3 separate regions of the Homo sapiens genome follow, and all the other regions are linked to region 3. Evidence: promoter capture Hi-C in human tissues and cell types (Jung and others, 2019). All regions are on one chromosome and are shown on one strand. Each heading gives the region's core, a stretch centred on a gene start or on the middle of the fragment in contact. The rest is flanking DNA. Distances are from core to core; before and after follow the strand shown.

The links. The method cuts DNA at HindIII sites, captures the fragments that hold promoters and counts their contacts. A contact is called where the count stands out against the background at its distance.
Region 1: a fragment that was not itself captured here is called in contact with the fragment with the promoter of MYLK in region 3 in 4 of the 25 tissues and cell types used here (bladder, heart left ventricle, liver and 1 more).
Region 2: a fragment that was not itself captured here is called in contact with the fragment with the promoter of MYLK in region 3 in 2 of the 25 tissues and cell types used here (aorta and mesenchymal stem cells).

The regions. Positions count from the first base shown.
Region 1 is chr3:123,810,447-123,815,529 of GRCh38, forward strand. The region is part of intron 3 of MYLK (myosin light chain kinase); the gene reads right to left. LOC124906346 (small nucleolar RNA SNORA5) reads left to right here and starts at 3,631; the gene lies at 3,631-3,761. The HindIII fragment of the contact is 3,385 bases long and covers 437-3,821 here.
Region 2 is chr3:123,948,431-123,953,132 of GRCh38, forward strand. CCDC14 (coiled-coil domain containing 14) reads right to left here. Exons shown (of 13, transcript NM_001366335.1): 6 at 466-702; 7 at 261-355. Among named protein-coding and RNA genes, the nearest start is that of CCDC14, 10 kb to the right of the region's middle. The HindIII fragment of the contact is 5,352 bases long and covers 1-4,702 here.
Region 3 is chr3:123,881,782-123,886,340 of GRCh38, forward strand. MYLK (myosin light chain kinase) reads right to left here and starts at 2,551. Exons shown (of 34, transcript NM_053025.4): 1 at 2,425-2,551. It also overlaps a transcript of CCDC14 not described here. RefSeq lists a silencer at 2,431-2,590. The HindIII fragment of the contact is 8,771 bases long and covers 1-4,559 here.

The sequences.
Region 1 (5,083 bases), core at 879-3,378, 72 kb before region 3:
GCCTCAATCTCAGGCTTGGGCCGGCCCACTGTGTCAGGGTTCAGCCCTCTCTGCTTCATTTCTGGCGCTCAATAGAATACAAAATGAGGAAATGTAAGCCAGCTCTAAGCCTGGCCCTGGCTCTGCCAATGGGGATGCCAGTCATGTCTCTTCTAGATGAACAATCCCCCCAACAGGCTCAGGACAGTTCTCACCTTCCCTGTCGTGCTCCTCAGGTAGGCAGGTGAACCCACTCAAGCACCAGCTGCATGCAATGCCTGTGGCAGGACTGGCCGGGAGTCCAGTCAGACCCTTGGCTGTCCTCATGTGACTCACACAGGCCCTTCCACACCATGCCCTGCCTGTCTCCCAAAGGACACCCTCCAGTTCCAGGTTGTCTGCAGGGCAGTCAGTGATGTTGCTGAGAACAACTGATTTTTGCCATCTGCAATGATGGGTGATAACAGAGATCGACACACTTTTCTCCCTTAACAGTCTCATTTTTCTAGCAATCATGGCTACCTTTTTCTCCTCACACTTCACCAAAGATACTAATGAGGCTAACACATGTTTCTCCTTTTCTCCCAGCCCTAAATCTCTTCTAGAATGGGGCTAACTGGAAAGAAATGGTGACCTCTGAGAACCTGGAGAAGGTATGGAAAAAACCAATGATCAACTGAGAGCACAGCCCATCAGCAGGAACACAAAGAGGAACTTCTGCTCGGAGGTGTCAGCTCAGCTGGTTTCCAGTGGAGAGGAGAAAGTGCGTGTCCCCTCTCAACCCTTTCTGAAACAGGGAGCCATTTGCACTCGGGGTGAGGGAGCCCTTCCACACAGGATCCTCCATCAGCTGCAAGGGGGAAGTACAGGCAAATGCAGGGCCAACAGGGAGATCAATGGACCACCATCAGCTATTAGCTGCACTCATACCTGGCTCAGGGATCATGGGCCTTGAGGATATGAGGCTCAACTTCCAATAGGGAATTTGGAATCCTATTGGAGAAAACAGATTATCAAAGAGAAAAATAGAGCCCCAGGAGCCAGGAAAGTGGGATGGAAAATTAAAAAGCTAATGGGGCATTGACCTGTTCAAAGGCCCTAAAACCCTTCATGCTTGTCTACTCCTGAACTTGAAATTCCACACCCTACCGGGGACACTGTGCTAAACAAAGGCAGCAGTTCATTTTTTTTAGCATTCAGCCTGGAGTGCCTAGCATTTATTGAGTGTTAGATGCTCTCTCTCGCCAACAGTAACAAGATTGGTATAGTGCTCTGAAGAGCAGTATGTTGTTTATCATCCCTGTAAAGCTTTGAAACGGCAATTCTAGTGCCAGAACATTTTCTTTCAAGCAATTTAGGTAAGCTTCTACCTGGTGGACACAGCAGCCAGCCAGCTAGGCCCCTCCAGGTGTGATTGATTAGGCCAGAAAGCAGTACTTCACATACTTATTTGTATCATTTTTCTATAAAAACATATCTATTAAATTAACAATTCACTTCTAACTACTAACCCCCATTTCTAACAGTTATATAACATTGAACAGAATGCTATCACCTGGAGCTTTTATCATTAACGCTCAATATAAAGAATCCATTTTTAATCTCACTCTGGTTTTTTGTCATTACCCAATATGGAACTGTTCTTAGAGAAAGCAGACCCCTGGGACTTCTCAGAGTCAGCGATAGAGATTCAGGACGCCTACACTGAAGAACTCTTGCCCCCCAGTTCTGTTCCCCCTCATACCTATTAGTCAGGGCTGGGTTCTATCACCTTAATGGCTTCATCCCGCTCTGCTTCTGGGCTCAAGAGAAAAACTGAATTCATTATTGACAGCACCTGTTCCTTGTGATGTAAGCTTAAACCAAATGAGGGGCGGTCAGAACCAACTTGCTTACACCTGTTTCAGTTTAAGACTTTGCAGTGGTACTTTCTCCCCCACTGAAAGTCAGGTTTCCCCACCCAACCTCTCTAGGAAGCTATGGTTTGACATTAGCCCATGCTTGCTCAGGTGTCCTCTCCACAGATCCCGGCCAATTCCATATCTAGCCTGGCCTCTAAAGCAGAGCGTTCTCTCTTGAGTGAGACAGTGGTTTCCCCTTATCTCTTAACTAGAGACTTAAAACAGTGTCCAGGTGCCAAAAGGTAATTTCTTGCTTAAGTCCAGGAAAAGCCAGAGTTTGCCCCAACACTTGTCACCTGTGTCCCTCAACCAACCAACTGAACAAAACATCTATGAAAGACCTAGATGTCTCTTTACTTTGGAAATCCCTGATGCAGGGCCAACTGTTAATCTGTTTGTTCACACATCCAGTCAGCTGTGCCTGTCACGGCTTCTCCGTTGACTGGGGGCCCCACTGAGCTGAGGCTGTCTGTGAGGAGATACTTTGTGAAGGTCTTTACCTCCTGTTTCGCAGTGCTCCCAAGATGTCCAGCCAGGCATATTGGGGCACTCAGGGTCACACCAATTCTCCTGTGGGCACAGGGAAGGGGGCCTTCTCCACAATCCCACCCCACTTTTCTTGCAAGATGAACCTAGGCTTGGCTCCCAGGCTAGATCACTGATGGTCAACTTGGCAGTCTGCTCAGTAATGGGGTTCCCAAAAAACGTGCCTTGACAGAGCCGATAGAAGAAAGGGCAGACAGCAGGAAGTAAACAGAGCCCACTCAGGCCAAGTCCCTATCTGCTTAAAGTTATCATCCTCTACCATTTGAACTGATTTTTGCACTAGCCATACCAGGGCTTTTTCATGAAAAGTCAAGAACTTGCTAATGCTAAAAGGTTGCAAATAGGGGAAGGTTCAGCTGGCAAATTATTTACCCTTACTTAAGCTTCTGCTTATTGAGATTTTAATGGTCATGTACCAGGTTTGTGGGATGGGGGAGGAAGACTGCAAGGGGAAAAGGAGCTCTTGGGTCAAAGTTAAATATGAATTCTAGCCACATGCTGGGGCAGCTTGGGAATAATTACCTTGGTTATCTTAATCAGGATAGACAGCAGAACTGTATTCATCTACAACACCTGGGCCACTTCTCCATCAGGCTGGGCCCACCTCTGCGTCAGGGAATCTTAATTCACTGTCTCTCTCTCTCTTTTTTTTTTTTGAGATGGAGTCTCGCTCTGTTGCCCAGGCTGGAATGCAGTGACGTGATCTCAGCTCACTGCAACCTCTGCCTCCCGGGTTCAAGCGATTCTCCTGCCTCAGCCTCCCGAGTTGCTGGGATTACAGACATGTGCGACCACGCCTGACTAATTTTTGTATTTTTAGTAGAGACGGGGTTTCACCATGTTGGCCAGGCTGGGCTCGAACTCCCAACCTCAAGCAATCTGCCTGCCTTAGCCTCCCAAAGTGCTGGGATTACAGGCATGAGCCACCATGCCCGGACAATTCACGGCCTCTTAAGCACTAGAGGCAACCAGCAGAGCAACTGTCATCAACCCAGAATGTCCTCCAACCTCCTTTTCAATAATTAGGGTGACCACATAACATATTATCCAAATGAGAGCTCTTGAGAATGGAAAGGGCTCTTTGAATACTCATGCTGGGACTATTCAGGGGAGCCGGGCTATACATAAGGCCACCTCTACCCTAATCACTCCCATGTCTCCCTAAGTCTAGACACAAGACATGACTTCAAAGATATCTTCCCCATGCAGCTGTGTCAAATTTGGTGCCTGCCCTGCCTGTGTAGGCACTGACCCAGAAGGCTGCCACAGAAACACTGACTCATGGGCCCTGTTCCTGTGTCTCGGGCTCAGGGATAAATTTGGTTACAGATACCAAGCCTCTAGAAAAACAAAAGACAAAGGTATCTTCCCCGGCCACATTCACCCTATTCCGGCCAAGCTCAGGCTTCATGTCCCCTCTGTCCAGGAACCTGTTATTTCACACTCCGGGTTATTTTGGACATGTTCTCATAGCTGTCCTTACTCCTTTGCTAGACAGACAGTGTCTTGGTTTCTGACTCTTTACAGGAATGTTGAACTCACCCGAGTTCCCTTGTCTCATCATCTTTTGTCATTCATAAACAAATAAACAATATTGGCTAAAAGTTTGGTCGTGAGTACGATTACAAATGACTTTTCCCCCAATATAAATACTATAATTTTCTGTAATATTTTTCCAATCTGTTTCTATGTATGTACTTTTAAAAATAAAATTATATATACAAATTATCATTGCCTTCATTTTTCATGCTTTTCCTCAGATATGGAACACTCTTCATAAATCTTATTTTCAGTGACTGTATCATATTCTAGCAAGTAGACAAGCCAAAACTTAATGATGCCCCTGTTATTTACTATTTAGGTTGCTTCCAATTTCATTAAAACAAACAGTTTCATGGACATAAACTGATCCTTTCTTTCTTTCTTTCTTTCTTTTTTTAGATGGAGTCTCATTCTGTTACCCAGGCTGGAGTACAGCGGCATGATCTCGGCTCACTGCAACCTCCACCTCCCAGGTTCAAGCAAGTCTCCTGTCTCAGCCTCCCGAGTAGCTAGGACTACAGGCACCTGACACCATGCCTGGCTAATTTTTGTATTTTTAGTAGAGACAGGGTTTCACCTTGTTGGTCAGGCTGGTCTTGAACTCCTGACCTCAGGTGATTCACCCACCTTGGCCTCCCAAAGCACTGGGATTACAGGCATGAGCCACCACACCTGGCCCCTTTATTTCCATAATAATCCTTTAGATTATTTCCCCAAGATACATTTCAAGAACTTCAATTACTGAGTCAGAGTGCATGGGATTTTATGGCTCTTGCATCCAGGTCCTCTTGATTCCTGTCAACTTGCCTGGTGCTGACTTGTGGCTCCCCAGTATTTTACTCTCCTGCCTCAGCCTCCGTTTAAGCTTGTTCTTCTTGATCTGGTGCCAGAATTCAGGCAAGTATCAGGTCCAGGGATTCCTACATGGTTTGAAGGGATGTACACTTAGATACCCAACCAAGTTAGGCAAGCCTTGGGAAGTGAGGCAAGTATTGAGTAAGACAGAAAAGGATCCAAGCTTCGAGAAGTCGTGAAGTTCAAAACGATTGCTATCAAGCAAAACATGAGGCTTCTGCCCTCTCCAGTATAATCCTGCCAGTGGGGGCAGCTCTGGA
Region 2 (4,702 bases), core at 1,407-3,906, 67 kb after region 3:
GGGGTTTCACCATGTTGGCCAGGCTGGTCTTGAACTCCAGACCTCGTGATCCACCCACCTCGGCCTCCCAAAGTGCCGGGATTACAGGCGTTTAGCCACGGCGCTCGGCCATAAACATGTAAAACTTTTATAGCAAAAAAAAATAAACAACTGGTCTTTAAATCCTAGTGCATTAAGTTATAAGCAATAAATTCAACAGTCCCTCCTGAATGACTGCTATAAGCAAATAGTTACTTATGTAGTATAAGAACTGTACGCACAGAATGAACCTTTGGAGGGCAGGGTGGCCGCTGAAGTGACCAGACTGGGGTGGAGGTACATAAGCCATAACTAGAATGAGGAGTTGCCTGAGATTCTGTAAGTAAGAGGGAGAAAAAATTAATCACATATCCTACTTTTTATACAGTAACCAAGCAATTTAATTAGAACTTACACTCACGATTTTTAAACAGCATTCGTACTCACCAGAATGAGAGGGAGCATGGCATGGTACAGCAGGAATTCCATTAGGGATGTTCTTTGAAGTCAAGTCATTCATCAGTGACATCTGAGTCTGCACGTGCTCACAGAGGGCTTGGTATATTATGGGTGAATACATTCTATAATGATCTTGCAATGACCAGTTTTGCTCTAGGTCTGATGTGTCTCTTTCACTTCTAGCAGAAGCTTCATTAGGTATCTGTTTCTTATTATCTGAAGATGCTAATGTGGAAGAAGAAAAAAGTTCTTGAAATATGATTCTTCAAAAACTTTTACCGTAAGATTTTAAGAGAAGAAAGGGCTCTCAGAAGTAGTCCAATCCATCACATACTTCATAGAAGGGCTTTACCACTATCACCCCTACTAAAGAAAATCATCTCAAATTCTTTCTGAAAGTAATTAGTGTTTAAGTTTCCCCAGTCAAAAATCATCTATACTAATTCTTTACAATTCCCATTTTTTATGCTACTTGCCATTTGTAAAATCTCTCCTTCATTTTAACACTTCTTTTAAGGGAGTTATATTATCCCTAAAGTCCAGTCAAACTCCTTCACCTTGTTCCTTGTCAGTTCATGTTCTCAAGGGAAAATGCAATAGGAAAGAGAATAGTTTGTACAATTCTGATGCTTTGGGTCCTCAAAAACAAAACAAAACAAAACCAACCAAACAAACAAAATCTTGGCCTGGCATTTAAAGTTTCCAAAGCTTGACCACAAGCTACTTTTCCAACTATCGCCCCATCACTCCCAACTCCAATTTTTCATTTCAGGCAGGCCAATTTAGTTACCCAACAAGCTTTTCTCACCTTCCAATAACATTGTTCATGAACCATTCCTACCAATCCAATTCTACCCACTCACCAAGGCTCATCTGAGTTTTCTTCTTCCATGAAGCCTTTTCCAATCCAATCATTCCAGTCTAGTGACTACTCTTCACCACCCTAGAGCACATATTGTCTATAGAAATCATATGCCACTGACACACTGCCTTATATTGCTTATCTTTCATCCTCCTGCCTTTCTGACTAAACCACAAGTTTCTCTAAGCAGGGCTGTACTTCATTGTTTTCTCTTACAGAACCTAGTATTAGTCTATGAACAAGGTAGAAATCGGTATTAACAAAGTAATAAGTAAAAAACAACAAAGTTTTCTACATAGCACTACCTATAGATTGGTATAACAATCTGAATACTATTTCCCTAATTAGGTCCCCTTCCCAAAGGTTTTTTAAAACACTATTAACAGAAATGAAAATATTCTGGTAAATCATAGGTTATCAGTATACAAAATAAATTTAGAAAAATATATGGATATTTGTCACACCTACCAAAGCTAAACGTACATATATTCTATGAAATAACAATTCCACTCCCAGGTATACACCAATAGAAATGAGTGCTTATGTCTACTGAAAGACATGTGCAAGAATGTTCACAGCAGCTTGATTTGCAGTAGCCCAAAGCTGAAAACACCAAATAGCCATGAATAGCAGAAATGGATAAACTGTGGTATACTCGCAGGCTGGAATACTATACAGCATTAAAAAACCAACAAAGTACTGATATATACAACTACCTGGATGTTTAATACACTTAAGGCTGACTGAAAGTGGTCAAACACAAGGGCGCACAGTGTTCAATCACATTTATAGGAAGTCATCAAACAGGTAAAAGTCACAAATGGAAACAGATGTCAGGAAAATGGTTACACAGGGATGAGGGTCTAGGTGATGGTGAGGGTACTGACAGGGAGGGAGCCTCGCAGGGTGCTAAAAATTGTCTGTATCTTGATCTAGGTGGTGGCTACAGGGGTGTATACGTATGCAAAAATTTATTGAGATTTATGTACTTTAAAATTATTTATGAGAAGTATTCCTTAATTTTTTAAAAAACAAAATAATTAAAAATTTAAAAGTAGAGAATCCCTCAAATATAGTTTATTGAAAATAAAAATATTACTAAAAGTGTAAAACTTCCATGTAAAAGCAAAAACAGAAAAAGTTAAAGGCAGATTTAATACTATAACCAGTGAAAATAGAAAAAAAATTTAAAGAAAAAGACAATATTTGACTACGAAAATGGCTGAAGATATCAGATGCTTCCCTTTTGACTTGGGGTATGCTTCCTTTTCAGATGATCTACTCCTATAAATGTACTTTCCAGACCTAAATACAAGCTTTAACACTTATTAGCTGAGTAACCTTGCGCAAATTAACTTCTCTTGACCTGTTTTTCCTCATCAGAAAAATTTTAATAATGCCTATTTTATAAGATTATTGAGAGATGTAAATGACGTAACACTTGTAAATTTCTTAAAGCAATGTCTACCACACAGTAAAAACTCAATGTTAAATATCACCAAATAGCTGCACTCTTACAATAGACAAGTAAATATATCATATTCATAAATCATACTATCTGATGTCAGTAATAAACCTCTGAACATGTCCCCTCTGAGATGATTAAAATCAAAAGTAATAAGAGTTACCTTCACTATCTGATCAGCTCAAACAAAACTGGTTAATAAACTTTTGTAAAGCAAATACTATTTCTTACCAGAAATACAATTTTATAATAAATCAAATGGAAAAGTGCCCTCTAAAATATTTTAACTTTGAAATCTAAAATGATAGAGGGTGAGATCATAGCCCATGGCCATCTAGCATACCACAAGTCCTTTCCTCTTGATTCCTGGGTCTTTCCTTCTGCTCTTGGATTTCCTCTGGTCCTTAAGAATTGGCTAGTTTGAAGAATTCTCAGATTTCACACACAGGTCACAGCATCAGGCTCTCATTTACTTTCTTTTCAAGGCGTGGTTTTCACAGTTTCTAATAAAGCTGAGCTACATTATGCCTCAGCCAGCAGATGTCATCAACTAACATAAATTAATAAATTCCAAACCTATTTCTTCAAAATCAAAGCCTTAGAACTAAAATGACATATTCTGCTCCTTTATAAACTCAGTCCACACAAATCTCTACGGATAATGTTGAGTAACTTTACTTAACGATATGAAGTCTTAAAGCAAACAATCCAAGACAAGTTAGAAACCATAAGGGAAGGACTGCAGTTATATGACTACTACACAGTTTTAAAATAAAACAAACCAATGATCAAATGAGCCTGTTACTACACAAATACAAATGAAGTATATTTTCTTGCTCTTGTTAATTACACCAACGCACTCTACATGAAAATTTTAGCTATTGGTCTGGCAATGTTTAAGTGATGTCAGGTGATAACTAGAATTCATGAAAGGAAAGTATTCATTTACTCAGTCCACAAAACTTTTTCAGTCCCTGAAGTCTAGCTGCTGTGCAAGCACTGTCTGACAGGAAGTTATTCCTGCCACTCGAATATAGAACAAACATCCAGTGCAGGTAAGAGCCACTAGATGCCTACTATAATTTGAAATACGTAAGAACACCTGGCCTTTATGAGTGGCAATCAATGCTCAAAGGATTTTTGCCTGTGGTTGGTTTAGTTCCCCAAGATGAAGACAGCAATGTATGTTACTAAAAGCAAAATCATGAAAGCATTCAACACAGTTATCACATGTAAAAGTTGCTTATTTAAAAAATACATATTTTTTTTAAATGCCAGAAGCACTCTCAAATAAGCTCAATACAATTCTGGAAGGGCTTCTCTGCCTCCTTAGTCCCAGAATGCATCATGGTGTGCTTACCTGACTCCATAGGCATTCAGTGATCAGGTAGGCATTCAATGATCATATCATCCCAGATAGAAAGTACATAAGGAGGCCACTCCCCAGAAGACAGTTAACACAAAATAGCAAGATAATGTGTGTTAAAAGTAAAATAATACATGGATACTAGTTAACATGCTGTAATAGATCGCTTAAAGTTCTTTATGATTACTTCACTTGGAGACGGTAAAGAGAACAAGTTATGAGCTTGGATTTTGTGTATTTTTGAGCATTGTGGTAACAAAGCAAAATCTTGTATTATTGGTTAACAGCTGCCAACCACACACACACACAACTAGAAACTAATTTCTAATATTGCAACCCTAAAGAAGATTGTCCTGTGGAAGTAGGTCCTTCCTTCTGATTAAGAAAATATGGGAGAAAGAACAATAAGAATATTGCACCCTGATCACAGGCCAGAACTGCTGATTCGGCTGTAATCCAAATAAGAATTTAACGCTATGGACCCAGAATGCCAGAATCTTCCATCTGCCAATCCAAACCCACCTCTACTGGT
Region 3 (4,559 bases), core at 1,301-3,800:
TCACAATCTATGCCTCTGAGACCAGCAAAGATCTCCCTAGCCAGAGACCCAGAACCTTTCCCCACCCTTGGAACTCAAAGGCCTCTCCCCTCTGCACCATCTGGGTCACCTCCTTCTCTGACAAGCCTTCTCAGCAGATTACCCCCGCCACCTGCCAGCCAGGAGCCCCTCCTCTGCAGTGACTGTAGCTGTCTGTCTACCATTTTCAGGCAGCAGGTGGGGCCACCTGGCCTTACCAGTTAGCCTAGGAATGTTCCAAGGCCTAGTCTGCTCTGCATATGTTTTCTAAGATCTGGCCCCTGGGGAAGCAGCCCCTGATGAAGGGGTGAGCAAACCTCACACAAACAGCAACTACTCTGGCTGGGTGCAGTGGCTCATGCCTGTAACCCAGCACTTTGGGAGGCAGAGGTGGGCGATCACTTGAGCCCATTAGACTAGTATGGACAACATGGTAGGACCCCATCTCTACAAAAAATCCAAAAAACTAGCCAGGTGTGGTGGCACACACCTGTAGTCCCTGCTACTCAGGAGGCTGAGGTGGAGGATTCCTTGAGCCTGGTAGGTCAAGGTTGCAGTGAGCTGAGATCACGCCACTGTACTCCAGCCTGGGCAACAGAGCCAGACCCTGTCTCAAAATAAAAAATAAAAATAAAAATAAGACAAGGAAACATCTACAATGCTGCAGCTACCCTCCTCCTCAGCTAGCCAGTTATTACACAAAAGAAACTGAACATGGGAGATAAACCAGCATAAATGCTTCCCCACTGTGGGGTGGTTCTCCAAGCTCATGCTTAGCTGCAAATGAGGTCCAGCATCCTTTGTATCATCAGTGAACAATGAGACAGACCTGCACATCTTGGCAAAAAAAGCTCTTGTGCATGTCCCCAGAGTACCCGCTACCCAATCCAGCATCCAGAGTCCAACCACTCCGGACCCAGGACCAACTGCTCAGGTTCCTCCCAGACCCAAGGCTCCTGGCCCACTGAGAGTGGGAGAAAAAGGGGTAACCTCACTCTGGGCAGGAAGGAAAATTCCATGCTGCCCTAGAGCACTGTGGTGCCAGCAGCATCATCCTCCACAGTCCCACAGTGTGCAGGCGGGGAAGAGACTAAGAGAATCACGGAAGAGAGAAGGAGGTCAAGAATTTAAGAGAAAAGAAAACAGTTCTATTAGAACCCTAAATGCCTTGTAGGAACCTAGTAAAGTCACCAGATGCACCTACACTTCTCCCAGAGACTTGCATTGTTGATTCCTGATTCTTTGAAGTGTGGGCGGGGTTCCCCAAATGGTCCTCCTAAGCCCACCATCTGGAAATAATTTATTGATAAGTGCATTTTGACAAAAAGTATTCCATTCAGGTGGAGAAGAACACAGCCTCTCTTGGAAGGGGGATGCAGCTCCAGGGCAGGCTCTCAAAGGCTGTGGGGTGGGCGGGTCATTGCATATACTCTGGTCTTTGCACTTGGGGAGAGGAGGGATGGTAAAAACCAACGGCCTGAGGTCTGGCATCATGCCCACTGCCCAGGTGTTTCCCTACACCCACCCAGCTCCCTGAATCACAACAGCTAATTTTACTCCCTCTAGACTCTAGTAGAGCTGGGTCTTCTCCTTCTGGCTACGAAATAGAAAGTGCCCCGCACCCCAACACACACACCCCAATCTAAAAAAAATATATATCCTTGAAACCATTTCCCCATCAGCCCATCTTCACATCTGCAATGCCACTCCTAGAAATTCAGTCCTTTGGGTCTTGAAGGGTTTTAGTTCCATAAGTTCCAGGGAGGGGTCTACCTCAACCATTGACAACTCACATCTCCTGAGAAGTTTATCCAAAACTTTCCAACTGCAATCATCGGCGAACAAGGTCCCTCAACAATGGGACCCCAGTTAACGCGAAGGAGGCAGAGCGAGGTAAGGAGCTTAAATGAGGAGTATGGAGTAGGAACAAGTCTGCAAAGCCCGCGCCCCAGCTTCGCCTGGGATGGCCAGGTCTGGCACTCGCGGGCCGCCTTCCCCGCCCTACCTTCCCGGAATCACATTTGGGCTGGAAGGACCTTCACGTGGCACCCCCTTCCCAGAGGCCGTCACCGAGTCCTCTAGCGAGGGTCTGGGAGCTGGGAGAAGGGTCCGCTTCTCCTCCGCCCCTCAAATCAAAGGCACCCCCTTCGGATGATTCCTAGAAAGGCAATCGCATCAGTGTCCCCAAGCACTTCATCTCCCCAAAAGAAAACTCGTGCAGCCTGGCGTCACTGGGGTCGTCTCCTTACGCCCCTGACTCCTCGCCGCACCCCGGGGCCCCTCTCCATTAGGGGAGTCGGGAGGCACAGACGGTGGGGGTCCCAGCCCCCACCCAGAACTCCCACCCTCGGAGCCTTGACTTCCAGGGCCCGCGCCTGGACAAAAGCATGGGGCGGGCTCACTCACCCGCGCGGCGAAGGCGGCCCGGGAGCCGGGGCACCGGCGCTCGGCGGGGCGCCCCGGCCGCAGGCGCACAGCGCGGGCTCCGAGCTCGCTCAGCGCCCTGCTGCCGACCGGGCGGCGCGGGGAGCCCGCGAGGCGCGTCCGGGACTGGGCAGGGCGGGGCGGGGCGGGGCGGGGCGGGGGTGAGCGAACCGGCGAGAGAGAGAGCAAGTGGGAGAGCGGAGAGCGGACGCGCGCTGAGGAGAGCGAGTGAGAGCGCGGCGCTACGGGGTCAGGACTCAAACCACCCGCTCCAGCCCCCATGCACTGATTTGCATGACATTTGCATAGCGCTCGGGGAGTGGACCTGCTGCCCTTCCCGCCACGCCCACCCGCCTTCTGCCTCGGAGTCCGGAGCGGAGAATCCGCAGCCAAACCTAGCGCCAGACCCGGGCCCCCCTCGCACTTATCCTGCACCGCCCCAGTTAACTCCTCGCAGGCGGCGGTCAGCGGGCTGGTACTGTCTTGGTGCGTGTCTTAGTCCTACACTGGGAGACCTAGGCCTTAGGTCGGGGTCTGATGCTAGCTTCGTGAGCGTGCATGAGACACTGGCTGCCTCTGGGCCTCAGTTTTCTAATCTGTAAAATGAAGATGTCAGCGGAACCATGGGGCTAAAGTTTTAGTGCTGGAAGGTTGTCTATGTAGTTTTTTTCAGACATCCTCCAGTGGTGCAACTCAGCCCCATGGTTCCTCTGACATCCTCCCTTTGTGTGTGTTAAGAATCTCTCATTGGTTTGGAAGATACCTACAAAGTTCTTTAAATTAAAAAAGGGGAAAGGGGAGGGGGGGGAGGGGAGGGGGAGGAGGTGTTTCTGGTTTTGGCTTGCTTTATATTTAGTTTGCACCCAATATGAAATATTTTATAGCTTCTGATCTCTTCACTTGGACCTTCTTTTGTTTTTTTTAAAAAAACTGTTTACTGCAGGTTAAGGAGTGTTTTTAAAAATTTTTTAATTGTAAAATAAAACATAAATACAGAAAACCACAAAAAACAAATATATAGATATATAGACTAGTGAATTATTATAAAGGGAACATCCTTGTAATCACCACCTGGATCAAGAAATAGAACTCTGCCAGCCACCCCAGGAGCCTCTCCATGTGCCCTACCTCAATGACAACCCCCTTTCTCCCTCCTCCCAAAAGTAACCACTAACCTGACTTTCATGTAGTCACTTCTGCTGCTTTTGTTTTTCTTGGTATCTTCCAAGGGTGCACCTTACCCCTCCCCCCACTCTTTTTTTTTTTAATTTGATTTGCCTTTTCAGTCTTTTCCTTACAATTATTTGTTAAATAACTTAAGCCCTTGATCTGTGAGGTTTTCCAGAGTCTGGGGGTTGCACATTCATGAGGCAATTCAGCATGTTTCTCTGTCCTCTGTATTGACAGCAAGTTGGCAGCTGATCCAGGGTCTTCCTCAGACTGAAGTTTGATGTCTTTTGTAAGATTATAGATGGTTGTGTGTTCTTTTCTTCAAGAGGTACATGATCATGATGTCTGGTGTTTGCTCTTTTTTGAGGTTAACAGCCGTCGATGCTCAATTCCTAGATTCATTAATTAATTGAAGTTTGCAAAATCATGGTATTCTAATAATTTTGTTTTCATTTATTAGTTCATAAGTGGATAAGGAGATGCTTCCTCTCATCTACTATTTGATTACCCTGAGATAGGAAAGGCACGATGAATACCTGCTTTTTTTTAAAAAAATTACCCAGTTTTCAAGTTAAGGAATTGATTCTCTGTCATTCTTAGATTTCTTTAATATCATTATAAATTCATGAATTTAAATATATTTGATAGGTTTCCATCTACGATATTAGAGCTCAAATTGTCCCATCTTTGGCCAGTAGGAGCTTCTTCAATATGGCTCCTGGCTCCTTTTGATAAGATTCTAGTAGTCTTTTTTTTTTTCTCTCTCTCTCTCTCTCACTAGTGTGCAAAGAGCTTCAAAGACCCTAGAAGTCTTTGATAGCTTCCTTGCTATCTGATATGACAAGATGTTCCAGGCACATCTGTACATTTGCTGCCTCAAACCTGGAATCAGCCATTTCTCCAAGAAGCTCTAGTTTTTTTGTTTTTTCTTTCCTTCCTTCCTTCTC